Linked DNA regions of Homo sapiens: region 2 is linked to region 1. Evidence: promoter capture Hi-C in 16 types of primary human blood cells and fetal thymus (Javierre and others, 2016). All regions are on one chromosome and are shown on one strand. The core of a region is centred on a gene start or on the middle of the fragment in contact, and the rest is flanking DNA. Distances in the headings are between cores, read along the strand shown.

Region 1 (5,453 bases), core at 2,712-5,211:
TTAATAACATTTCAATATTCATTTCATGGTTTAACAATATTCCTACTTTAAGCATAAATGGGATAAAAGGAAACTGATAAAGGGTTTCCACCAAAGACTTACAACAAATATCATAATTATGACACATGAGAAACATTTTCAATCAGATAAAAATAGGAAAACAATGCTTGCACTCACCCTTAACTATCTGATGTTATATTGAAGGTCCCAGCCCATGCAAAGAGATAAGAAAGGGGAAAATGTATTAGGGGTGTTATTTATAGATAATATTATCATTTACATGAAAACACAAGAGAATCTACAAATAAACTATTTAACTAATAAGTTCAGCATGTTTGCCAGCATTATCTAACACAGTTTTCAGGTTATTCCAAAATCTACAGGATCTCTACCAATGACAGTAGCAGCAATGACCAATTTAAACATTTAATAGAAAAGAGATCTCACTTATAATAGCAGCAAAAGCTGTAAGGTACAATAGGAGTAAGTCTAACAAAGAGGTACAATACTTTTATAAACAAATTATAAAATGTTATTGAAAGACATTTAAAAATCAGAATATTAATGTACTAGTTGGCTCAATTTTATGAAGTTGTCATAGCTCCCCAATTTTAACCTATAAATTTAACTAAGCAAAATACCAAAAGAGTTTTTCAATGCAACTTGACAAACTAATGCTAAAGTTAGTATAGAAGAATAGAAGTCCAAAAATAGCCTATACATTCATGAAATTAATAAAGCAGATTCTACAGGTATCAACATGAGTAGCTCTCAAAATCACATGGAGGGAGAAAAGCAAGTTGCAAAATGATGTGTACATTACCTAACAATTTTTTAAATGAACAAAGAGAGGATATGTCCTTCTGCACATCAAGATTTACAAAGCCATGGTAATTAAGACTGTGGTATTGGCTCAAATTTGGTTTGATTAGTGGAAAAGGACAAACTAGAAACACATCCATGAATACATAGAAATTTAATTTACAATCATGGTGGCATTACATATTAATAGGGACACGAAGGACTGTTCAGTAAATCGGGTTACCACACGCCTTCCATATGGGGGTTGGGGGAAAGGGAGGAGTAAAATTATTGAATTCCTACTTTACACCATTCAAAAAAAATAAGTCCCAGATAGATCAATCTCGTGTGGAAAGCAAAACTTTAAAACATTAAGGAAGAAGACATAAGAGGCTACCTTTATGCATCAGGTATGGAGAGGTTTCTTTAATAATCCACAAATGACACTATAAAGAAAGAGATCAATGAATATGAGTACATTTTAAATTGTCTATAGTACAAAAGACATCAAAAGCAGTTAAAAGACAAGCCACAGACTGAGACAATATATTTAATGTTTACACGCATGAATTCCTACAAATCAGGAGGAAAAAAGATAAAACATACACGATCTACTGAAAAAAATGAATGAAGACTGTGAAAAAACAAATCACAGACTTGGAAACCTCAATAACCAACAAACATATGGGGAAAAAATGCTTAACTTTGCTAGCAGTGAGGGAAATTCAAATAAGACAACAAGATACTGTTTTTTAAAATAATCAAATTGGCAGGAATAATAAAAATCTTAATCTAGAAAGTGTTGAAGATCATGTGAGGGAAACGTGAACTGTCACACACTTCTGATGGGTGTGCAAATTGAAGCATTTGGCAGTCTCTCGCAAAACTGAAAATGTGTGTGGAGCCCGGCAATTCCCCATCTAGGTAGATACATAGAGAAATTCTCACATATGTGCAAAGGAAACATGTACAAGTAGTACCAAAATATTGGCAGCAGTTTAATATTCATCAATAGGGGAATGAATAAACAGGACACATTTGTATGCATGGATCCACACTATAGCAATTAAAATGAATGAATTGGATCTATATTTATCAACACGAAGAGAAAAAATAAAAACATACCATGAATGAAAAAAATAAGTCCAAGAATAATATGCACAGCCTAATACCATGTTTGTACATTTAAAAAAATCATATAAACCAATATTCTGCATTTTATAGGTTCACATCCAGTTAAATTGTAAAACCCAGACTGGAAAGTTACATACCAAATTCATGTTAGTGTTTGCCTTTGGGGAAAAGGGTGGAGAATGGTATTGGGGGCAGTACAAGGGGACCTTCAATTTTATCAGAAATGTTGAATACTTAATAGATCTGAGGGAGATATAACAAAATGTTAACATATTCATTATATGAGACAGGTATATGGGTGCTTGTAATGTTCTCTCTGCATTTTAAATATCTTCACATTTTTTCTAAATAATAAAATTAAAACAGCTAGTAAATTATTCTATCTGATAGATTTTAATGTGTAGATTAACGAAGAGTTAATCGTCTAGAGGAACTTCAGAAAAATTAACTGTTTTGCAATGGAATCGCCTTAAAAATAATAACACTGACAATATTATTTAAAAACTGCTGAAATGAATAAAGTAGATTCTATAGGTGTCAACCTGGATAGCTGTCAAAATCATATTGAGGGAAAGAAGTTGCAAAATGATATGTATACTAGTGAACCATTTACTTAAAAATTTTAATAAATAAGCATGGAGATATACATATATTTACATGTATAATTAGGTAATACGGGTATCAAAACAAATGCAGATTAAATAGCCACTTTATAATACTAATTACCTAGAAAAGTGAAGAGGGAGAAAGGTGAATGGAACTGGGGAGGGAAACAAAGTGACATTCAACTCTATCTGTAATGTTTAATATAAATAAAAACATGAAACAACTATAACAAAAATTTCACATTTGATTACCCTAGGCAGTAAATACATGAACGTATGTTATTCTTGATACATACGTATTAATTTTCAAAAGAAAAAGTACTGAAGAACTACAAATAAAATGCACACAATTCACTCATATAAAAGCTTGTATACATCAAAAACTAAGATATGACTATTTTTAGAAATTATCCTGTTTGTTTTTCTATGTAGTTTTACATTTTTAAAAAGAAAAACGAGGGAAAAAATGAGAGCAATGAAGACACGTAAAAGAAACCGTACATGCATTTGATTATAAAAAAGGCAAACCTCCACAATCACAAAACACCATATGAGCATTCTATATCATGTGCTGCATTTCCTTACATTTAACTTTCGTCAAAAGCAAATTACAAGATAATGCCTAATTGGAAACGTGACTTTCTATTATTAAAATGGTGGGAGTCCATTTTAATGTGTTTATCTCGCCGCTAGACTATAATTTATATCTCAGCGTTTAAATTTGTTTGGATGCCAGTGACAGGTTAATGCAGTTTAAACATGCATTTTTCTTTCGTTGGCTGAATAGTTAAATCGTTACTCAAAGGATTTTAAGTTTCAATTTCAACCGGGAGAGGATTCTTTGCTTTTCCAAGGTTAAAACTGTTTCTGGTTCGAGATGCTATTAATTAATGGCTACGTAGCGGATCTATTTAGGGAACTGCTCCCGGCCCCGGGTTCACAGTTGACCTGCTCAATGAGAAAACTTTTTTTGCTACAGACTTGGGGATATTTGCAATTTAGTCTGAGAGCGGCGAACGGGGAGTGAAATGGAATTCGAGACCACTTCGCTAACAATCGCAATTATGAACCGAAAGACATGTCAGGTATTAGCAATTTTTTTCCTTAAAAAAAAAAAAAACTTTCTGGGACTCCGCGGGACACCCAGCTGGCGACGGACCAGCGGGCGGCGGGCTGCGGGGAGGGGGGGCGAGGCTGCTGCAACCCAGAAGTTCCGACTGGGGAGTTTCGCTCTGTTACCATTACCTGGCTCGCCGGCAGAAGAAAGAACGCGGAGACAAGATAATTTCTGAGGCTGTTAAACATGACTTAGCCGGGGGCCGCGCGTTCCGAGGGGGTGTCCTGCGGGCCGGGGCGGGTCTCTGCCGCCCCCGCGGGCTCCGGTGCGTCAGGGGCGCGTCAGGCGGGGCGGGCTCCGCGCGGGCGGCGGCGGCAGCGGCGGCTGCGGCGGCGGCGGCGGCAGCAGGCGGCAGGCGGCGAGCACCCGGCCTCCTGCTTCTCGCTCCGAGGCTGCGGGACGGACGCTCCCGGGAACTCCGTCGCCCGCGGCCGGCCGCGTTCGGACGGCGCTCGCCGGCGGCCGGGCGGTCCCAGCATGTCGGCCGCCGTGGCGTGCCTGGACTACTTCGCCGCCGAGTGCCTGGTGTCCATGTCCGCGGGCGCCGTGGTTCACCGCCGCCCGCCGGACCCCGAGGGCGCGGGTGGAGCCGCTGGCTCGGAGGTGGGTGCGGCGCCGCCGGAGTCCGCTCTGCCGGGTCCGGGGCCACCGGGGCCCGCGTCGGTCCCCCAGCTCCCGCAGGTCCCCGCCCCCAGCCCCGGCGCGGGCGGCGCCGCGCCCCACCTGCTGGCTGCAAGCGTCTGGGCGGACTTGCGCGGCAGCTCTGGCGAGGGCTCCTGGGAGAACTCGGGGGAAGCTCCACGCGCCTCGTCCGGCTTCTCCGACCCGATCCCGTGCTCCGTCCAGACCCCGTGCTCCGAGCTGGCTCCCGCCTCCGGCGCCGCGGCGGTCTGCGCTCCCGAGAGCTCCTCCGATGCGCCCGCCGTCCCAAGCGCGCCTGCTGCCCCGGGCGCACCAGCAGCCTCTGGTGGGTTCTCTGGAGGGGCCCTAGGGGCAGGCCCCGCCCCCGCCGCGGATCAGGCGCCCCGGAGGAGGTCTGTCACACCTGCTGCCAAGCGCCACCAATGCCCCTTCCCGGGCTGCACCAAAGCCTATTACAAGTCGTCGCACCTCAAGTCCCACCAGCGCACCCACACGGGTGAGCGCCCTTTCTCCTGCGACTGGCTCGACTGCGACAAGAAGTTTACGCGTTCCGACGAGCTGGCCCGCCACTACAGGACGCACACGGGCGAGAAGCGCTTCTCCTGCCCCCTCTGCCCCAAGCAGTTCTCCCGGAGCGACCACCTGACCAAGCATGCTCGCCGCCACCCAACCTATCATCCAGATATGATCGAGTACCGGGGACGTCGTCGAACTCCCCGCATCGACCCGCCACTCACCAGCGAGGTGGAAAGCTCCGCCTCCGGCTCCGGTCCCGGCCCGGCGCCCAGCTTCACCACCTGCCTGTAGGACAGTCATTGCTGTCAGTCTTACCCTCAAGGATGATCCCCCAGGCCGTTGTCCCTGCTTTCTCTCTGCCCATCCTTCTTTCCCAGAGTCATTACACCAAGGCACAGACTGGTTCCTCTGCTCTGAGGGTGGGTCCAGGCAGACATGTGGACTCTGGGGAGGTACTGGGGGCCGGAAAATAGCGGGAATTCTTGCAACGTGTATATCATCCTAAAAGTGGGGGTTGCCTCAAGACAGCCCCCAGGAACTGATAAGAAGGGATGAACTCCCGTACTCTCCAGAGTACTGAAGATTCTCCCCTCCCTGGAACCAGGGATGTGAAACTGGAATTCTCAGATGCCTGAGGA
Region 2 (5,664 bases), core at 1,038-3,537, 270 kb after region 1:
CGATCTCAGCTCACTGCAAGCTCCGCCTCCCGAGTTCACACCGTTCTCCTGCCTCAGCCTCCGGAGTAGCTGGGATTACAGGCGCACACAACCATGCCCAGCTAATTTGTTTGTATTTTTAGTAGAGATGGGGTTTCACCATGTTAGCCAGGATGGTCTCAATCTCCTGACCTCATGATCCGCCCACCTGGGCCTCCCAAAGTGCTGGGATTACAGGCATGAGCCACTGTGCCTGGCCAATTATTTCAGTCTTAAGATCACTAGTGCCCATATAACATAACTTAATCCTGGAAATAAACTCCATCATATTGAAAGTCCTAGAGATTATTCAGTTCATGTACCCTAGAGACGAAGGACATTTTGTGGGTCATTCGAGAATTCATCCTGCTGAAAGGACGTTTCATAATGATAAAATAATCAGTTCATCTAGACACAGCAAAACTGAATGTATTTGCACCTGATAACAGAGCTTCAAGATATATGAAGCAAATATTAATGGAACTAAAAGAATTAGAGAAATTCACAATTATAGTTGGAGATCTCAGCCTTTCTCAGGAATTAATAGAACACATAGACAGAAGAGAAGTTAAGATATAAAATACTTGAACAACACTATTTACCAAATTGACCTAATTGACATTTGTAGAGAATATTCCCAATTACTTTAGAATGCTCTTTATTTTTTTCAAGTTCACATGGTACATTCACCACTACAAACTCTATGTTGGGCCACAGAACAAGTTTCGATAAATGTAAAAGGATGGAAATCATACAGAGTGTATTCTCTGACCACAAAGACATTAAAATAGAACTCATAAAGCTTGTTATAGCAATTCCACATGGCATAGAGACACTCCAATTTTATGCTTGGATGTCAACATGACAGTAATTCTGTGGTATGATCAAATAAATATGAATTACTCACATAGGAGTAGAAGTCCCAAAGTGAGTGGTGGAGAGGATGGCTCTCTCTGGGACAAAGTCCAGAATACAGACAGAGTGAATAGCAAATGTGCAATGGTTTATAAAAAGAAAGTCGTCCTGCTACCATGAGATTTAAAAGAGGTTCCACCTAGCATGAAATTTCAAAGAGGCAGCAAGAGGGCACATGTGCTTATGAGACCTGAGGGTGAGTGAGCTTTATCAGGGTACTGCAGGAGGCAATAAACACAGGCAGGAACTAAGACTTAAAGCTATCTAGCACTGAATCAAATGCCAACGGGAGTTCAAGTTTCTTTTGTATAATCTTCACAACACCATATAAAAGGAAATTAAACAAACATAAATAATTTGGGATCAAGGATAAAATCATGAAGAGAATGAAAACATATTTTGAATTAAATGACAAGGAAAATACAATACTGCATATGAAAATTTCTGGGATGCAGCCAAGGCAGTGCTCATAGGGAAGCTTATACCTCATCCAAAGGAAAAAGATCTGAAATCATTAACCTAAGCTTCCACCTTCAAAAACTGGAGAGAGAAGGGCAAATAAGCTCATAATCCATAAAAGTAAAGAAATAACAAAGAGCAGAAATTAACAAAGGAGAAAAGAGACAGATAATGAAAACAATAAACAAAGTAAAAAGATACTTCGTTGAAAGCATCAAAAAACCCAACAAACCCTTAGCTAGATTGATCAAGGGATAAAGAACACATATCGCTAATAACAGGAGTGAAGAAGAGTTACCACCACAGATCCCACAGACATTAAAAGGATAATAAAATGACATTATGAGGCCAGGCGTGGTGGCTCATGCCTGTAATCCCAGCACTTTGGGAGGCTGAGGCGGGTGGATCACTTGAGGCCAGGAGTTCAAGACCAGCCTGGCCAACATGGAGAAACCCCATCTCTACTAAAAATACAAAAATTAGCCAGGTGTGGTGGCATGTTCCTGTAATCCAAGCTACTTGGGAGGCTGAGGTAGGAGAATTGCTTGAACCCAGGAGGCAGAGGTTGTGGTGAACTGAGATCACACCACTGCACTCCAGCCTGGTGACAGAGTAAGATGCTGTCTCAAAAAAAAAAAAAAAAAGACATTATGAATAATTTTATGCTGGTAAATTTGAAAACCTAGATGAAATGGAGAAAGTCCTTGAAAAATACAACTTATAATAACCGATACCCCAAAAAAGCAAGTATTCACAACATGTATCAGACAAACGACTTGTATTCAGAATATATGTGGAACTCTTAAACCTCATGAATTAAAAAAACAAACTGCCCAATTAAAAATAGACAAAGGGTTTGAAGAGATCTTCACAAAATAGGATGCACAGCCAACAAACACACAAAAAGATGTACAATATCATAAGTCATCAGAGAAATGCAAACTGAAGCCACAATAATTTACTACTACACACCCACTAGAATGACTACAATTTTTAAAAGTGAGAATACTGAGTGTTGGAGAAGGTGTTGAGAAACTGTGGCTCTCATATATTGTGGATGGGAATATAAAATAGTACAGCCACTTTAGAAACAGTTTGGCAATTTCTTACAAAGTTAAATGTATATTTACCATACAACCCAACAGTTCCATTCCTATTTACACTAGAGAAATAAAAACATATGTCCACACAAAGGCTTGTACATATATATTCATAGTAGGTTTATTAATAGCTAAAATCTGAAGTCAGCCCAATGGTCAATTAACAGGTAATAAATACACAGATTGTAGTATGTCCACACTTAGCAATAAAAAGTAACTAAGTACTAATACCTACAACAACATGGATAAGTCTTAAAAACAGTATGATGAACCACAATAACCATACCATATGATTTCATATAAATGAAATTCTAGAAAATGCAAGTCTAATCCACAGTGACATAAGCAGACCAGTGGTAGCCTAGGACCAGGTTAATGTATATTGCTTGGACCAGAGCATAGGGGAACTTATAAGGATGACAGAATTGATTGTAGTTGTGGTTACACGGGTATATACATTTATCAACATTCATTGGATGGTATGCTTAAAATGGGTACAATTTAAGGGTGTAAATTCTCAATAAAGTCAAGTGTAAACAATATTCCTATAAGAGAAACTCCGAACAGGAGAGAGGTTTCCCTGACTTCTATTAAATATTCAAGGAAAAAATAATACCAAGCTTACACAAATTGTTTCAGAAAACAGAGGTGGGAAAACATTCATTTTATGAGACCAACAATACAGTGATACTGAAACCAAAAACATTACAAGAAAATAAAACTCCAGGCCAATATCCCTTATGAACATACATACATAAACATAGACAAAATATTAATAAATTGAATGCAACAATAAATAAAACTGACCAAGGGGGATTATCCCAAAAATGGAAGATTGGCTTAACATTTTAAAGTCAGTGGATGTAATTCAATACATCAATGAAATAAGAGAGAAAAAAACATAAATGAGGCAATTTTGTAGGTACTCTGAAAATACCTTTTAAACAAGTCTCCCTCCAGGTGAATCTAGTTCAATACAGGCTTATCATGAGTAGCTTGACCCTACCTGCTGATTTGCCCCACACCTAATCACAGCTTTTTTTTGAAAGAGCTGTGCACTCATCAACAAATTTCCTGCCTATCATTGGCCTATGCCTGCATAATTGCATGTGAGGGTGAGAACAGGCATTCAGAGGAAAACATCGCCCTTGCTTCGTGACTACTTTGTTGAAACATTCCTTTCATAGAAAGGGTTTACATTGCTATGGTGATCATACTGGATTCTGGGATTTGTTGTGTTTTATTTTCTCAGTGAGCAACATCTACATATTTGCCCCACATGTGGAGAATGCTTGCCTGGTGTTCCTCTCCTCCAAAAACTTAAGGAAAGCTAGTGAAATGTGTTTCCTGTCTTCAGCCTACCCAAAAGAATCCAAAGAAGGCTCTTGATCATGCCAAACCTTGCATTTAACAGTCACCCTGAATCCTTAGAACCTCATCTTCCTAATCTCTAGGCGGCAAGACTTACCTGTTTGTCTCTCTCTAATCACTCACCTAAATCCTTGAAGTTGATGAGTCTTTTTCCCCGAACCTCCAAAGCAGTTTCAGCCAAGATGCAGACACCTGGAAGACTATCACAGAGCATCTTCTTCAACCAGAGAACTCAGTACCACAAATTGCAAGCCATATCTTGGCCCAAGAAGCCCAGAAAGGGATTGTCATGTGGCTGCTCTTACCAAAGATAAATGGAAAATATCTGCAAGAGCCTGGAGGTGGGCCTTAATTCCTCTGCTAGCCAGAGCAGGTGGGAAGAGGATCTAGTGATTGCCTTATAGTAACACAGGAGGAATCAGCTTGAACTAAGAACTCCCCTGAGACAAGAATCCAAGCGATACCTGAGACACTGTTGGGGGAAACCTCTATGCATTTGTTGGGGAGCCATGCTCAGTCCTTTCGACTGTCATCCCTACATCCACTCTTAATCCTAGACTGGCTCCCCAAGTTTTCCATTCTTGCAGTAGTTCCTGAGTCATCTGCTGCTGCTGTCAATAACTAAGGTGGCCATAAAATTCATCGTCCAAATTGGGACACTTTTGAGAGTGCAAAGTGGATGCTTTTAATTATTACACTGTGACAACAGGTATAAATTGGGATTGTCCCAGGAAACCAGCATATGGTCACCCTAAAAATTACCCCTCCATCCCAAGGAGCTCTCTCTCTCAAAACTAACTGGAGAGTCACAGTCACTACACTGTTCTCTCTGCTGTCCCCACAAACATGCAGATAAACTTCTCACTTGAAAGGCTTTACTTCTGGTTGTTACAGGTAAATTGACAGTGATCACTGAAGTAACCAATCAGGGAAAGTTAAATGAATGTTTCTAGTGTATTGTCCCTGGTCTGACCAGCCAGATTTACCCTGAAATGGCAACTAAAGTTTCATGGATTTTAGTTTTAGATTTTATTTCTTTTACTTTATGTAAATGACCATGTATTATTGCAGACATATCACATGGATATTGTGGAAAATTAGAACATTGAGACCAACCAGTATTACAAAATAAATTGCCACATGACCATCACCAAGAAATTATTACTGCTGAATGATATCAGCAAGAATAGTAGACTAAGAACCTCAAAATCTTCTCCTCCATGAAAGCAATGGGAAAACTGGAAAAATGGTCAGAATAAACCCTTTCAGAACTCTGGAAATTAACCAAAGGCTTACAGCATTCAGAGAACATTTATTCAAGAAAAACACCTAAGGCCAGGAGTGCAGTGGCTCCAAGGCAGGAAGATTGTTTGAGGCCAGGAGTTTGAGGCCATTTTGGGCAACATAGTAAGACTCTGTCTCTATAAAAAAAAGAAAAGATTAAAAATTAGCTGGGCATGGTGGTGCATGCCTGTAGTTCCAGCTACGTGGGAGGCTGAGGTGGGAGGATGGCTTGGGTCCAGGAGTTCAAGGCTGCAGTGAACTATAATTGCATCACTATACTCCAGACTGGTGATAGAACAAGACCCCATCTCTTAAAAAAAAAGAAAAACAGCTGAATCTCAGTAAAAACAATGAGTTTTGTGATAATTTAACTTTCCCTATTCCCATGCTCCTCTTTCTAGATCCACAGAAGCCTTGAAAACAAAGAGCCCACAATTGCAGTAAAAAGCAGCAGCCCGGCAGCCACCAGAGAGGGCAGAGTCCCGCAACCTCCCACCACTTTGAAGGAGCTGGAGCT

The links. The method cuts DNA at HindIII sites, captures the fragments that hold promoters and counts their contacts. A CHiCAGO score of 5 or more calls a contact.
Region 2: a fragment that was not itself captured here is called in contact with the fragment with the promoter of KLF14 in region 1 in 1 of 17 cell types (endothelial precursors); the score reaches 5.3 in endothelial precursors.

Annotation. Positions count from the first base shown.
Region 1 is chr7:130,732,715-130,738,167 of GRCh38, reverse strand. KLF14 (KLF transcription factor 14) reads left to right here and starts at 3,961. Exons shown (of 1, transcript NM_138693.4): 1 at 3,961-5,453. The coding sequence starts at 4,135. The coding sequence ends at 5,106. It overlaps LOC105375508 (a long non-coding RNA gene), which reads right to left and starts at 3,904. Exons shown (of 4, transcript XR_927978.3): 1 at 3,786-3,904; 2 at 1,199-1,247; 3 at 178-187. RefSeq lists silencers at 4,148-4,227, 4,298-4,457 and an enhancer at 4,353-4,890. The HindIII fragment of the contact is 4,510 bases long and covers 2,909-5,453 here.
Region 2 is chr7:130,459,504-130,465,167 of GRCh38, reverse strand. No RefSeq gene overlaps it. Among named protein-coding and RNA genes, the nearest start is that of CEP41, 21 kb to the right of the region's middle. The HindIII fragment of the contact is 1,655 bases long and covers 1,460-3,114 here.